5 separate regions of the Homo sapiens genome follow, and regions 2, 3, 4 and 5 are each linked to region 1. The links are contacts of gene promoters, found by promoter capture Hi-C in blood cells and fetal thymus (Javierre and others, 2016). All regions are on one chromosome and are shown on one strand. The core of a region is centred on a gene start or on the middle of the fragment in contact, and the rest is flanking DNA. Distances in the headings are between cores, read along the strand shown. Region 1 holds the start of SHB (SH2 domain containing adaptor protein B). Region 2 overlaps SHB (SH2 domain containing adaptor protein B). Region 3 has its middle 91 kb from the start of SHB. Region 4 overlaps SHB (SH2 domain containing adaptor protein B). Region 5 overlaps SHB (SH2 domain containing adaptor protein B).

Region 1 (2,583 bases), core at 62-2,561:
AGGGGCACCTTACCTTGTCCTTCTTGCCGGCCCCGCTCTCCTCCGCGGCTGAGGCGGCGCACTTGTTGAGCAGTTTCTTGCCTCCGCAGGCCGTCGGGCTCCAGGTGCGGCCGCCCGCGCAGGCGCCCCCCAGGGGGTCCCCGGCCCCACCGCCCGCGGCGCTCTCCACTTTGATGAGGCGGTGCTTGGGGGAGATGTAGCGCACCTCGGCCGGCGTGGCGGGCCGCCGCTCGCTGCTGCTGCGGTAGAGATGCGGAGAGCCGGAGGACGAGGACGAGGACGCGGCGGCCCCCGCGCCCGAGGAGGCGCAGCAACAGCCCGCGGCGCCCGACGCGGACGAGGCCGAGAAGGCGCGCTGGACCCCGCCTGGCTCCCCGCTGCCGCCGCAGTAGTCCAGGCGGCACATGGCGCGCAGTTTGCGCAGCGACGAGCCAGGCCCGTTGTAGGGGTCCTCGAAGTCTCGCTCCTTCTGCGCGCGGTAGGCGCGGATGAGGTCGCTGGTGCTGCCGCTGTCGTCGGGCAGCGAGCCCGAAGAGGCTGAGAAGCAGGAGGCGGTGGCCGGACCGCAGGACGCCGAGGCGGCGGAGGAGGCCTGCGGCACGGCCTGGGGGGGCTGCGAAGGCCGCTCGCCTCGGCGCCGCTGCTCGCGGTAGTCTGGCCGCGGCGGCTGCGGGGGGCTCTTGGTCTTGCTGTTGCCCAAGCTGAAGTACTTGTTTAGCCACTTGGCCATGGCGAGAGGCCGCCTAGGGCCGCGGCGCGGGAGCCCGGTCCGCCGCCGCGGCCATTCGGGGGGCAGCGCTGCGGCGCAGGTCCCTCGGCGCCCCGGCCCCGGCGGGGGGCGTCCGGGGCGCCCGCTCCCGACGCCAAGTTCAAGTTCTTGCCGCCGCCGCCTCCTGCCGGCAGCTCTCTGGCTCCGGCGGCTGCAACACCTCCCTCCGCCTAGCGCCGCCCAAGCTAGGAATCTCGCGCCCCTCGTGGGCGCGTCTCATGGGGTCCCGGCCCACGCCCGGGGGAGAGCGGAAGGTCCGAGCGCTCCACGCCGCGGACCCTTTGGCCGTACGCCCCTCGCCGTGGATCGCGCTCCTGCCCCGTCGGAGCCGCAGCCTCCGCCTTGGCCGGGATCCGCGGCTGCCGCGGGAACTTCTCGGCGTCCTCGGCTCCCTTCTTCCTTCCTGCGAGCGCTGGGGAGAGCTCGGCCCCGCAGCGGAGGAGAATGCGGCCGGGAGAGACAGCGAGCGACGGAGGAAGGCAGCCGGCGCCCGCCGGAGCCCGCGCGCCCGTGCCCGTCCCGGCGGCGCCTGTCGCTGCCACTGCCGCCGCCTCCCGAGCCGCCGCGTGTGTGACACTCAGGCCGCCAGAGCCCGCCCCGCGCCGCCGCCCCGCCCCCCCGGAGCCCGCTCGCGCGCCCCGCCCCCCGCCCGCTCCCGCAGACCCAGCACCGCCCATCCCCGCGAGCCTGGCCCCGGGCCGCGGCCCAAGCCCCGCCCCCCTCGCGCCCGGGGCCGGGGTGGGCGCACCTCTCCGCTCCTGCACACGCCACCTCCCGCGGCTGCCCTGGCGCCAGCACCAGGGTCTTGCCCCAGGGCGCTGGGGTCCCGCCGCGCAGCCGGCTCCACCTAGCTTGCAGCTCGCCGCCGCCTCGGGCGAGAGGTTGCCTGGCGGAGCCTGCTACGCGCAGAGGCCAAACCTTTCCGCAGTCCCCCGGGACCCCGCGCGTTGTTCACTCCAGGGATCCCCCTGTCGGGGTTGAGGAGGGAGAGTGGATTAACACGGAACCTGTCTAGTTTACAGCGTGGCCCGTGTGGAGGAAATGCAGTGCCTAGTGCCCTTAGGGACAGAGTGGCTGTCCCTCTTCCTTAAAGGGACAGACTCCGGTTCAGCCCCGTGCGCCAGGTCTTCGGAGGAATCTTTATGCTAATGAGTGTATTAGCAGTCCAGATGACGGATGTGGTCGGGATAGGCGGTGGGAGCCGGGCCCAGCACCAATCCGAGAGCAAGGCTAGGGGAGGTCGGAATGTTTGCTTACCTTTTCACCTCTGAGGAAGTCGAGGCTTTAGCCCTGTTCGCTGCCAGCCGGCGGGGAGCAAGTTGTGGGAACATTTAATGCCTTATGTTGTAGGAGCTGGCAAGGATCCATTTAATACAGGACCTCGGCCGGGTGCGGTGTCTCACGCCTGTAATCCCAGCACTTTGGGAGGCCGAGGCGGGTGGATCACGAGGTCAGGAGTTTAATACCAGCCTGGCCAAGATGGTGAAACCCCGTCTCTACTAAAAATACAAAAATTAGCCGGGTGTGGTGGCGGGTACCTGTAATCCCAGCAGCTACTCGGAAGGCTGAGGCAGAGAATTGCTTGAACCTGGGAGGCAGAGGTTGCAGTGAGCCGAGATCACACCACTTCACTCCAGCCTGGGCGACAGAGGGAGATTCCGTCTCAAAAAATAAATACAGGACCTCATTTTACAGATGGAGAAACTGAGGCCCAGAGGAAAGTCACACAGGTGGACTTGGATGCCAGTTCCTAAGTCGGGTGGCACCATAATTATGTCTTTTCCAAGAGTCTCTTCTTTGCGATTTCAGATCAT
Region 2 (2,583 bases), core at 43-2,542, 120 kb before region 1:
CTTTTCCTCTTGCAGAGCTGGAATCTGTCTATGCATTGTCTGCCCACAAGTCCCCTGTCTGTACATCAGCTCCCTCTGCCCTGACAGTCCTTGAGAGATGCATGGTCCCCACCCCGTGTCCACATGCTCTCTCTTCTCTAGGTGGACTCCCACAGCCTGTGTGCCTTGCCCTACCTGCCTCTGCCCATGCCTGCCGCCCTCCTGACTCTGCAGTTTGTCACTGTCTCTCTCAGGGCAAAGCCCAGAAGTTGTGGGGGGAGGGGTCAGTCGTGAGCAGAGAACACAGGCCAGTTTCACCTTCCTTGGTTTTACTGAAGCCTCTGTCTACAGGGCCGGCATGTGTGTGAGCTCTCCTGACAACCGTGTCCCTGCAGGCCGGCTCTCCCTCCCATGGCCTCTAACAGCGGTAAGTGGGACAGAGAGGATGCCAGGCAGAGGGATTCACTGCTTCTGGGGGATCTGTGCTGGCTGAAGAGCCTGGGTTTACACCCCAGTTATGTCACCAGCTCTCTATATGTCCTTGGCAAATCCCTTCTTTTTCTGGACCTCAGTTTTTCTGTAAAATGGGTTTAGGCATTCTTTTGGGTCCCGTCCAGCAATAGCACCCAACTAAAACATGCTTTTCTTATTTCTGGGCCTGCCCATCCTGACAGAAATGCCTCACAGGTCAGAAAGACCTGAAAGTTTCCAAAGCTGCGATAGGCAGTAACACCACCTCTTCCCAGTGCTCCTCCTAGACTTTGTGCAACACCCAAACTCAGGCCCACACAAACCGCAAGCCAGAGCTAGGTCATGCTCACAGTGGCAGAGAGTCATGGGCTGGTCACAAGTCCTGGCCCAGCCACTTGGGCCAGCCACACCCACCTCCGTGAACCTGTTTACTCATCTGCAAATTGGCGACGATATGTTCCTCAAAAAAATCAAAGGACCATCGTCGTGGGCTTTGAGAGCAGGATGAGGCATGCTAGGAACTTCGTACCACCCCGGCTCACAGCAGATGTGAAAGCTTTCTTGGATAGTTAATACAAAATCCTAGAAAAAGGCCCCTCATCTTCTGGAAGGGCAGCAACAGTGAACATAAAAACTCCTCTGTATCCCAGGAGAATAGGATCAAATTGAAAAACCCAGGCCTAAAATAACGTGTGCTGGCAAGTTTCCCAGGGGACACTGGCGGGTTTTTCTGCCACAGACACGGTGGCCGGCTGCGCTCGCAGAGGCTGCCGAGGAGGGCTGGGGGTGCTCGGGGCGGCACTCACCTCAGGGAGAGGGAGTAGTCATGCTTGCTGGTCTGGCTGTTCCGGACAAGGTAGCTACACTCCTTGCAGAGTCGCAGCAGGTTCTCGGCGTCTCCTCTGCTGATGGCTCCGTGATACCATCTGTGGAGAGGGCAGAGAGTGGTCAGAGCCCAGCGCGATGGGATTCCCATGGCCCTGACCTGCCTTGGGAGACTCAGCACCCGCAGAGAGCCTCCCTGTACAAGCAGGCATGCACTGGTTCATTCCATGGGTACCCACTGCCCGCCTGCTGCTGCCGGGTCCTGGGGAGAGCACAGTGAACAAAACCCAGTCTCTTTTCACGGGAAGCTTATGCTCTGGTGCAGGGAGTCAGGCCACAGACACTCAAGTCATCACAGAGCACAGTGTGAGGACAGGCATCATGGAGATGAAGTGGCATAGGCTCATGGAGCTGGGGGCTGGTGAGGGACTATTTCAGGCAGGGTGGCCAGGGAAGCCTTCTCAAGGTGAGGTGGCTCACGCCTGTAATCCCAGCGCTTTGGGAGGCCAAGGCAGTTGGATCACCTGAGGTCAGTTCAAAACCAGCCTGGCCAACATGGCGAAACCCCATCTCTACTAAAAATACAAAAATTAGCCGGGCGTGGTGGTGGGCGCCTGTAATCCCAGCTACTCAGGAGGCTGAGACTGGAGAATCACTTGAACCTGGGAGGCGGAGGTTGCAGTGAGTTAAGATCATGCCACTGCACTCCAGCCTGGAAGACACAGCAAGACTCCATCTCAAAAAAAAAAAAAAAAAAGAAAAAGAAAAAAGAAAATGGAAAAAAAAGAAGAAAGAAAAAAAAAGTGACATTTCAGTGCAGACCTGCAGGAGGCAAGGAGGGAAGCCAGAGAGGAGCTTTCTTGGTAGACAAATCAGCAGCGAAGGCCAAGGCAGAAGGCTGCCTAGCGTATTCTGGAAACAGCTAGGGGCCAGCATGGACAGAAGCAGCAAGGGGAAGGGGTGTGCAAGACGTCCCGAAATGGGGCTGCAGCAGGGGCTTTTCTCTGTTTGAGCAACATGGAAACCATCAGAGGGTGCTGATGGGAGGGCCACGCTCTGACTCAGGGATGTGTGCAGACATGGATGGTGGGCAGGGAGGTAGCTGTCCATGCTCCTGCCAGACGGCTCTAGCACCACTTGGGCATGTGGGAATCCCAGCATTACTGCTCCCAGATGCCATGCATGCCAGAGGAGGGCAGGCGGCAGAATCTGAGGGGAGGAGTGCCGTGCAGAGGGCCCGACTCATCCCTCATCTCCCATCAGAGGAGGAAATGGGAGCAATGCTTTTCTTTCTTTTTTTTGAGACAG
Region 3 (2,583 bases), core at 37-2,536, 91 kb after region 1:
AGGAGTAGGATGACCAGCACAATGAACTGCGTTTGGATGGCCCCCAGGGGTCTGAGCAAGAAGCGGGGCAGCCATGACCACAAGGGACAGTGGCCCTGAGAACTGGACTGTGTAAGCCTGGGGGCTTTCTGTAACATATAAGGGAGGTGGAGGGACTGCTTGTCGACCATGGACATGGGTGGGCAAACTGGTTTTATTATGGAAAGTGTGCAATGGTCCTTGCATCCCCGGAGCTGTGGAGTAAGCCTCAGGCCTGTTACTGATGAGTGGGGTGAACAGGATTAACACCCTTGGTTTGAAGTGGAGTGGGAATCTACCCCGGGGCATCAGACTAGACTCAGACACCATCAGATGCACCAGGAAGGAAGGATGCACCATAGGAAGGCTGGGAGGGAGGTTGGCAAGAGGTGGCAGGGGCCCTGAATGTCACACTAATGAGCTAATCCTGACAGCACTGGGGGAGCCAGTGATGATGAAAGCGGGAAAAGGCCTGGCCTGACATGGGCCAGGTGCACCTCCTGGAGTGTGGCCCTTGGGAGGACACTTCCACAGCAGGGTGTGGCCACTCAGGCTGCCTGGTCGTCCACACAATGGCTGCTGTCTACTGGGGGCTTTCTCTTCCAGACTCTATGCTAGATGCTTTACAAGTATTATTTTATTTCATTCTCACAATAATCCTATGAGGCAGATACCTGATCCATCCCCATTTAACAAATGAGGAAACTAAGCAGAGAGAAGTTAAGCTGCTTCTTAAAAGGCCCAAAGTCCCCCAGCTGGTGACAGCAGGACCATCAAGCTCCTAACTCATCTTTTCCATCAAGGCACCTGGGCCACTCGATAACACCAGAATGAAGGCTTTGAGTAATCACCTGTTCCCTACTCTCCCATTGTACAAATGGGAAAACTGAGGTGAGGGAGCTTGATCAAGGTCACTCGGTAAGCTAGACGTGGAACTGGAAGCTGGTCCAGATGTCCAGGTCAAGGCTCTCCTGACTCCTCTCAAGGGTGGCTGTGCCTGGGGATGCAGCAAACAGGTGGGATACCTGGACATGGTGCTGGCCAGAGTCCAACCCAGCACCTCCATCCTCACCCAGACCTCAGCCACCAGTACATTTGTGGGCAGAGCCCACAGGATCCTCCTGAAAACACCATTTCTTGGTCACAAGCTATTTTATGATTGAATTTTTCAAGATGTCTATTAGGAAATGTTTTATATATATATAGAACAATATTTGTAATGCATATATTCATTGCAAAACATGATAGTAAAATTAGCACCCATGAGCTCACCATCCACTTTTGGAACTAGAACTTTCCTGGTACTCTTGCATGTGTCTGGGTACCTCTTTCTTATTCTAGCCCTCACCTCCCCTACAAATGACCACAACCCAGGCTTTGGTGTTTATGATTTCCTGGCTGTTTTGTGATAGTTTTAGCACATATATTCATATTCCAAAGCCATATATTATTTACTTTTATTTGCATTTGAACTTTATAAAAAAATCATACTGTTTGATATTACAATAAAATATTCACAGTCTTCTGTAAATTACTTTTTTTCACCTAACGTTGTTTCTAAAATTCATCCATGTTGATGCCTGTAGCTTAGTTCATTCATTTTCCCTGCTGTGTAATATCTCACTGTGTAAAACACCACGTATTATCTATTCTTTTGCTATTAGGCATTTGGTTTGCTTCTAGTATTTTGCTATCATGAAACGCTACTATGAACATTCTTGGTCATGCCTCCCAGGGCGCATGGAAGAGATTCTCAAAGACATACCTAGGAGTGGGGTTGCTGGATCATATGACGTGTGCGTATCGAACCTTACAAGTTAAAGCCAGATCAGGAAGGGCTCCCACCTTCATTGTGTGGTTCCCTGGCTCTTCCACCTTGTGATCTCTCTCTAGCGCCCCCTGTTGGCAGAGGCTAAGAGATCGTCAGCAGGCCAAGCAGAATATTAGTGTCCCAGCTGTCATCATAAAAGGCAAATTTAGAGGGGATAGGGTTAGAGATGAGAGCCATAGCACCTAATTTAGAAATATGTGATCACCCCACCAGTGAGTAAAAAAAACTGGGCCAATGTGGCCTGAAGGTCGCCAGCTTAAAACCTCTGCAATGTGGCCTGATTTCTTACTGATCTCCACTTTGTACCCTCTGCTCTTGCCACAGGGAATGTCTCCTCCTTCCCTAAATGTGGTGCTCTTCCACGCCCATTTATCCTTTTCTCTCAATCTCAATTTTCTTTCCCACCTGGCACACTTTGCTCCCTGTTCAAGTCCTTCCTGTTGCTGAAACCCCATTTCAAATGCTGCTTCCTTCGTCATTTTTTTCTGATCTCTCCAGCTGGAGGTAATAAAGATATCCTTCTCTTGAGTTCCCCAGCTCCATATCTACCCTCTCTCTGGGCAACAAGCAGTGTTCACTTAGCATCACTGTTGTTTGGTCTATGGCTCATCTCCTCAATCAGAATTTTATTTTAAGAAAAGCAATGCAAGTAAGGGCATAGAGGAAATAATCACTCATATCACATCGCTGACACTGATACAACTTTTAATATATCCCTTTCCAGTTTCCCTGTG
Region 4 (2,583 bases), core at 54-2,553, 88 kb before region 1:
TTTATTGCCAAAAACTGCTTACAATCATCTAAGCCTTCAGTGAGTCATCTTTTTGCTGGTGGAGGGTCTTGCTTTGATGTTGCCGGCTGCCGACTGATCAGGGTGGTAGTTCCTGAAGGCTGAGGTGGCTGTGGAAAATTTTTTATGCCCCTCCCCCCAGCTGTGGGAATTTCTTAAAATGAGACAATAAAATTTGCCACATAGATTGACTCTTCCTTTCACGAAAGATTTCTCTTAGCGAAAGGCTGTTTTATAACATTTTACCCACGGCAGAACTTCTTTCAAAATTGGAGTCAATCTTTTCAAACTCTGCTGCTGCTTCATCAACTAAGTTTATGTACTATTCTAAATCCTATGTTGTCATTTTAACAATGTTCCCAGCATCTTCATCAGGAATAGATTCTATCTCAAGAAAACTGTCTTTGCTCATCCATAAGAAGCAACTCTTTATTTGTTCAAGTTTGATCATAAGATTCCTGCAATTCAGTTACATCTTCAGACTCCACTTCTAATGCTAGTTCTCTTGTTATTTTCATCATATTTGCAGTTACTTCCTCCACTGAAGTCTTGAAGGCCTCAAAGTCATCTGTGAGGACTGGACTCTTCTTCCAAACTCCTGTTAATGTGGCTATTTTGACCCCTTTCATGAATCACAAATGTACTTAATGGCTTCTAGAACAGTAAATCTTCCCCAGAAGGTTTTCAGTTTACTTTGCCCAGGTCCATCAGAGGAATCACTATCTCTGGCAGCTATAGCCTTATGAGATGTATTTCTTAAATAATAAGACTTCAAAGTTGAGATTACTCCTTGATCCATGGGCCGCGGAATGGATGTTGTGTTAGCAGGCATGAAAACAACATTCATCTCCTCGTACATCCCCAGCTGAGCTCTTGGGTGACCAAGAACAGTGTCAATCAGCAGTAGTATCTTTAAAGGAATCTTTTTTTCCTTAAAGTTGGTCTCAAAAGTGGGCTTAAAATATTCAGTAAACCATGCTGTAAACAGAGGAACTGCCATCCAGGCTTTGTTGTTCCATTCACAGGGCACGAGCAGGGTAGATTTAGCATAATTCTTAAGGGCTCCAGGATTTTTCAGAATGGCAAATGAGCACTGGCTTCAACTTACAATCACCAGCTGCATTAGTCCCTAACAAGAGAGGCAGCCTGTCCTTTGAAGCTTTGAAGCCAGGCATTGACTTCCCTATGGCTCTGAAAGTCCTAGATGGCATCTTCTTCCAATAGAAGGCTGCTTTGTCTACACTGAAAATCTGTTGTTTTGCATAGCCACCTTCATCGATGACCTCAGCTAGATCTTCTGGATAACTTGCTGCAGTTTCTACATCAGCACTTGCTGCTTCACCACACACTTCCATGTTATGGAAATGGCTTCTTTCCTTAAACCTCAGAAATCAACCTCTGTTAGCTTTTCTGAAGCTTCCTCCACTCTCTCAGCCTTCACAGAATTGAAGAGTTAGGGCCTTGCTCCAGATTAGGCTTTGATTTAAGGGAATTTGTGGCTGGTTTGAGCTTCTATCTAGACCAAACTCTCTCTCTAATAGCAACAAGGCTGTTTTGCTTTCTTTTCAATTGTGTATTCGCAGGAGTGACACTTTTAATTTTCTTCAACTTTTCCTTTACATCCACAACCTGGCTAACTATTCGGTGCAAGAAGCCTACCTTTTGGCAGATCTCGGTTTTTGACATGACTTCTGCACTAGGCTTATTTCCAAGATTTTGGTTTAAAGTGAGAGATGTGTGACTCTCCCTTTCCTTTGAACATGTAGAGGCCATTGTTGAATTATTAATAGGCCTGATTTCAACATTGTTGTGTTTTACAGAATAGAGAGGCCCAAGGAGAGGGGAAGAGATGAAGGAATGGTCAGTCAGTGGGGCAGTCAGAACACACATAACATTTATTAAGTTCGCCATCTTCTGTGGGTGCAGTTTGTGGTGCCCCAAAACAATTACAACAGTAACATCAAAGATCACTGATCACAGGTCACCGTAACAGCTATAATAATAAAAAGGTTTGAAATATGAGAATTACCAAAATGTGACACAGAGACACAAAATGAGCACACGCTGTTGGAAAAATGATGCTGATAGACTTACTTGAAGGAAGGTTGCCACAAACCTTCATTTTGTAAAAAAAAAAAAAATGCAATACCTGCAAACCACAATGAAGCAATGCACAATAAAATGAAGTATGCCTAAACATTTTATTATGGAGAGTCTCAAAATCTGTATTTTGAAAGAAGATGGGCCAGATGTGGTGGCTCACGCCTGTACTCCTAGCGCTTTGGGAGGCCAAGGGGGGTGGATCACCTGAGGACAGGAGTTCGAGACCAGCCTGGCCAACATGGTAAAACCCCGTCTCTACTAAAAATACAAAAATTAGAGGGGTGTGGTGGTGGGCACCTATAATCCCAGCTACTGGGAAGGCTGAGGCAGGAGAATTGCTTGTACCCAGGGGGCGGAGGTTGCAGTGAGCTGAGATTGCGCCACTTTACTCCAGCCGGGGCAAAAGAGCAAAACTCCGTCTCAAAAAAAATGGATAAGTAGGCCGGGTGCAGTGGCTCACAC
Region 5 (2,583 bases), core at 25-2,524, 70 kb before region 1:
GCAAAACTCCTAAAGTACTGCTACCCCAAGTTATCTCATCTTTGTGGTTGGCCTTCTGGGCTGTCCAGCTCCACCACCTCAGGACTGGAACCCTGTACCTCTCACATCACAGAGACACGGAGGCCGAGGCACTCTGCTCCATCACCCCAGGGCAGATGGCCAGCTTATCAAACAACAGCTGTCCAGGGCGACAGCAGCTTCTCACTGTGTGACAAGGGCAAGTGGCAGAAAGGACAACAAGGCCCTGGGGGCCTGAGGCCCAGGAGGAGACCCTGCTAAGGGGCAGAGGGCCCTGGGATGGGATGGGGATGAACAAGAGTGATGCTTCTTCCTGGCTTGTGGTACCCACTGTGTCCAACCGAGCAAGCAGAGGCAGTGGCAGGACAGCCCGTGTGACAGGCACTTGCTGCATTCTGCTGTGGTGGAGCTGCTTTCTCTTGTAAAGTGCCGCCGTGCCCAACTGCCTGCTTGTAAAGGGGAGCGCGACGGGGATTTACAGCATTCCTGTTGCTCTGAGCTCTGAGTTACGATTCCAAGGCACCAGTGGCCGGGAGCAGGCAGCTTGGAGGGAGGAGGGAGGAGGGAGGGAAGCACTAGGGCCAGGGCCCCAACACAGTACTGAGCTGGACCGCTATCCTGCTGGCCTGGGCTTCCTGACCACCAAGGACTCCATAAACGGTAAACTTCCCAGAACTGCAGGCGCCCCAGAGACTCACAACCTCCCCCACCACCCTCAGGGCCAGATACATGGTCTCTGCATCGCCTGTTTTCAAATCCAGGAAAGCACATGTTCTGATGGTCTCAAAATCCTATTTTGTTTATTTATTTAAAGACAGGGTCTGGCTCTGTCACCTAGGCTGGAGTGCCGTGGCACGGTCTCAGTTCACTGCAACCTCCACCTCCTGGGCTCAAGCAATCCTCCTGCCTCAGCCTCCCGAATAGCTGAGACTACAGGCACACGCCACCACGCCCAGCTAATTTTTGAATTTTTAGTAGAGACGGGGTTTCACCATGTTGCCTAGGTTAGCCTCAAACTCTTGAGCTCAAGCTATGCACCCTCCTCGGCCTCCCAAAGTGCTAGGATTACAGGTGTGAGCTGCCCTGCCTGTCCTCGAAATCCTATTTTGAATGCTTATTTTTCAGGGACAAACAGGAAATCCAAATGATTAATATGTTTGCAGCCATTAAACTGACTTCAAAGGCAAGGATGAGATGGAAGCAGAGGAAAGGCCCATTTTTCATCCAGTTTCAACCAGCTCTTCCCAAGAGCCAAGCTCTGTGCTAGGCTCTGGGGAACCCACTGTGAGTCACTCAGGCCCTGCCCAGGCTGCTGGAGGAACTCAAGAGCAAGGCAGAACAAGAGGGAGGAAGTCCCTGCGGGATCACAGAGCCCTGGGGAGCCCCTCAGTGAGGAGGACAGTGAGCGTTTACACAGGAAAGCAAGTGGGTGATGGGGTGCTGCTGGACCCTGGGAACCCTATAGGGTGTGGGATTTGAGGAAGGCCTGGAAAGTCTGGGCTCAGATCTGAGGAACCCAGTGGAGATCTCTGAGCAGGAAAGTAACATGATCTAGCCAGGCCTGGGAAACTCATCAGGGGACAGTGAGGAGGGATCTGTGAAAGGCTGAGACTAGCAGGCGAGCTGATCTCACTCTGTTCTCAAACCTCCTAGCTTCTCTCCTCCCTGAGGTCTCTCTCCTGCAAGGGGTGAAGGAAGCCTGCTGCAGACTCGGGGTGACCAGGAGCTCAAATGGCTGCTCCACTTTATTCAGCTGATGCACATGCAAAATGACAGCTGTTTCAAATACACTAAAAAAAATTATTTAAAGGTATATATGCTACAATTAGGCCCAATTCGAAAGTAGGCTTCTGTGGAAAGATATCCCCTAGGGAGGCTAGTGTGACTTGAGCTCACAAACAGGTTTCTGGAGTGCTGAGTGGAAGCTGCAGACACCAAGCGCCGCATACTGAGTGGAGGTCTGACAGAGACTGGGGACAAACAAAGGCAGCCGAGGCAGCAGCCCAACCACCAGCAGCACGTGGGAGGCTTCTGTGTTCTGGGAGATTGTGTCCCTGTGTGCATCCAGCGTGTCTTTGTGTGACTGCCACCACTACCAGGACAGGTTAGCACTAAAGTCACCTTAGGATCTGGCTGAAGCCTTGACTTCAGAGATGGAGAAACTGAGGCATGCCTTGTCCAAGCTCAAACCGGCTGTCGGAGGAGCTGCAATTCACTCCTGCAGCCTCCAGCTCATGACTCTCTCCACTAGTCACCCCATGCCCTCTACCCCCAGCCCTGTTCTATTTGGCCATTCAGAGATTTACAAGATTCCAGTATGAATCACAGCTTTGTGAAGGCTGACAAGAAGAGCCACGAGGCTGGGGCACCACACCTGAGTGGGTGGTTTCCATTCCTTTCCACAGGCCCAGGGCTGGGTCCTCAGGACTTGCACAGGTAGCTTCAAGGAGACAACAGAACGGATGTCCATCCCTCCCACAGGCAGTGGAGAGAGAAAAGAGAGGGAGCGAGAAGTCAGCGAGAATTGCTGCTGCTGGCAGACCAGGCCAGGCCAGACCACAGCTT

The links. Contacts are between HindIII fragments. The CHiCAGO score rates a contact against its expected background, and 5 or more counts as called.
Region 2: a contact is called between a fragment that was not itself captured here and the fragment with the promoter of SHB in region 1, in 8 of 17 cell types (M0 macrophages, endothelial precursors, M1 macrophages and 5 more). The highest score is 12.9, in M0 macrophages.
Region 3: a contact is called between a fragment that was not itself captured here and the fragment with the promoter of SHB in region 1, in 1 of 17 cell types (endothelial precursors). The highest score is 5.5, in endothelial precursors.
Region 4: a contact is called between a fragment that was not itself captured here and the fragment with the promoter of SHB in region 1, in 3 of 17 cell types (monocytes, M0 macrophages and fetal thymus). The highest score is 6.4, in monocytes.
Region 5: a fragment that was not itself captured here is called in contact with the fragment with the promoter of SHB in region 1 in 5 of 17 cell types (M0 macrophages, monocytes, M2 macrophages and 2 more); the score reaches 9.6 in M0 macrophages.

Annotation. Positions count from the first base shown.
Region 1 is chr9:38,067,916-38,070,498 of GRCh38, forward strand. It overlaps SHB (SH2 domain containing adaptor protein B), which reads right to left and starts at 1,312. Exons shown (of 6, transcript NM_003028.3): 1 at 14-1,312. The coding sequence starts at 730. RefSeq lists an enhancer at 1-552 and silencers at 443-492, 913-1,722. The HindIII fragment of the contact is 5,108 bases long and covers 1-2,583 here.
Region 2 is chr9:37,947,379-37,949,961 of GRCh38, forward strand. SHB (SH2 domain containing adaptor protein B) reads right to left here. Exons shown (of 6, transcript NM_003028.3): 5 at 1,257-1,376. Among named protein-coding and RNA genes, the nearest start is that of SLC25A51, 45 kb to the left of the region's middle. The HindIII fragment of the contact is 577 bases long and covers 1,005-1,581 here.
Region 3 is chr9:38,158,897-38,161,479 of GRCh38, forward strand. No RefSeq gene overlaps it. Among named protein-coding and RNA genes, the nearest start is that of SHB, 91 kb to the left of the region's middle. The HindIII fragment of the contact is 4,001 bases long and covers 1-2,583 here.
Region 4 is chr9:37,979,950-37,982,532 of GRCh38, forward strand. All of the region lies in intron 2 of SHB (SH2 domain containing adaptor protein B), which reads right to left. Among named protein-coding and RNA genes, the nearest start is that of SLC25A51, 77 kb to the left of the region's middle. The HindIII fragment of the contact is 257 bases long and covers 1,176-1,432 here.
Region 5 is chr9:37,997,642-38,000,224 of GRCh38, forward strand. All of the region lies in intron 2 of SHB (SH2 domain containing adaptor protein B), which reads right to left. Among named protein-coding and RNA genes, the nearest start is that of SHB, 70 kb to the right of the region's middle. RefSeq lists an enhancer at 37-538. The HindIII fragment of the contact is 7,612 bases long and covers 1-2,583 here.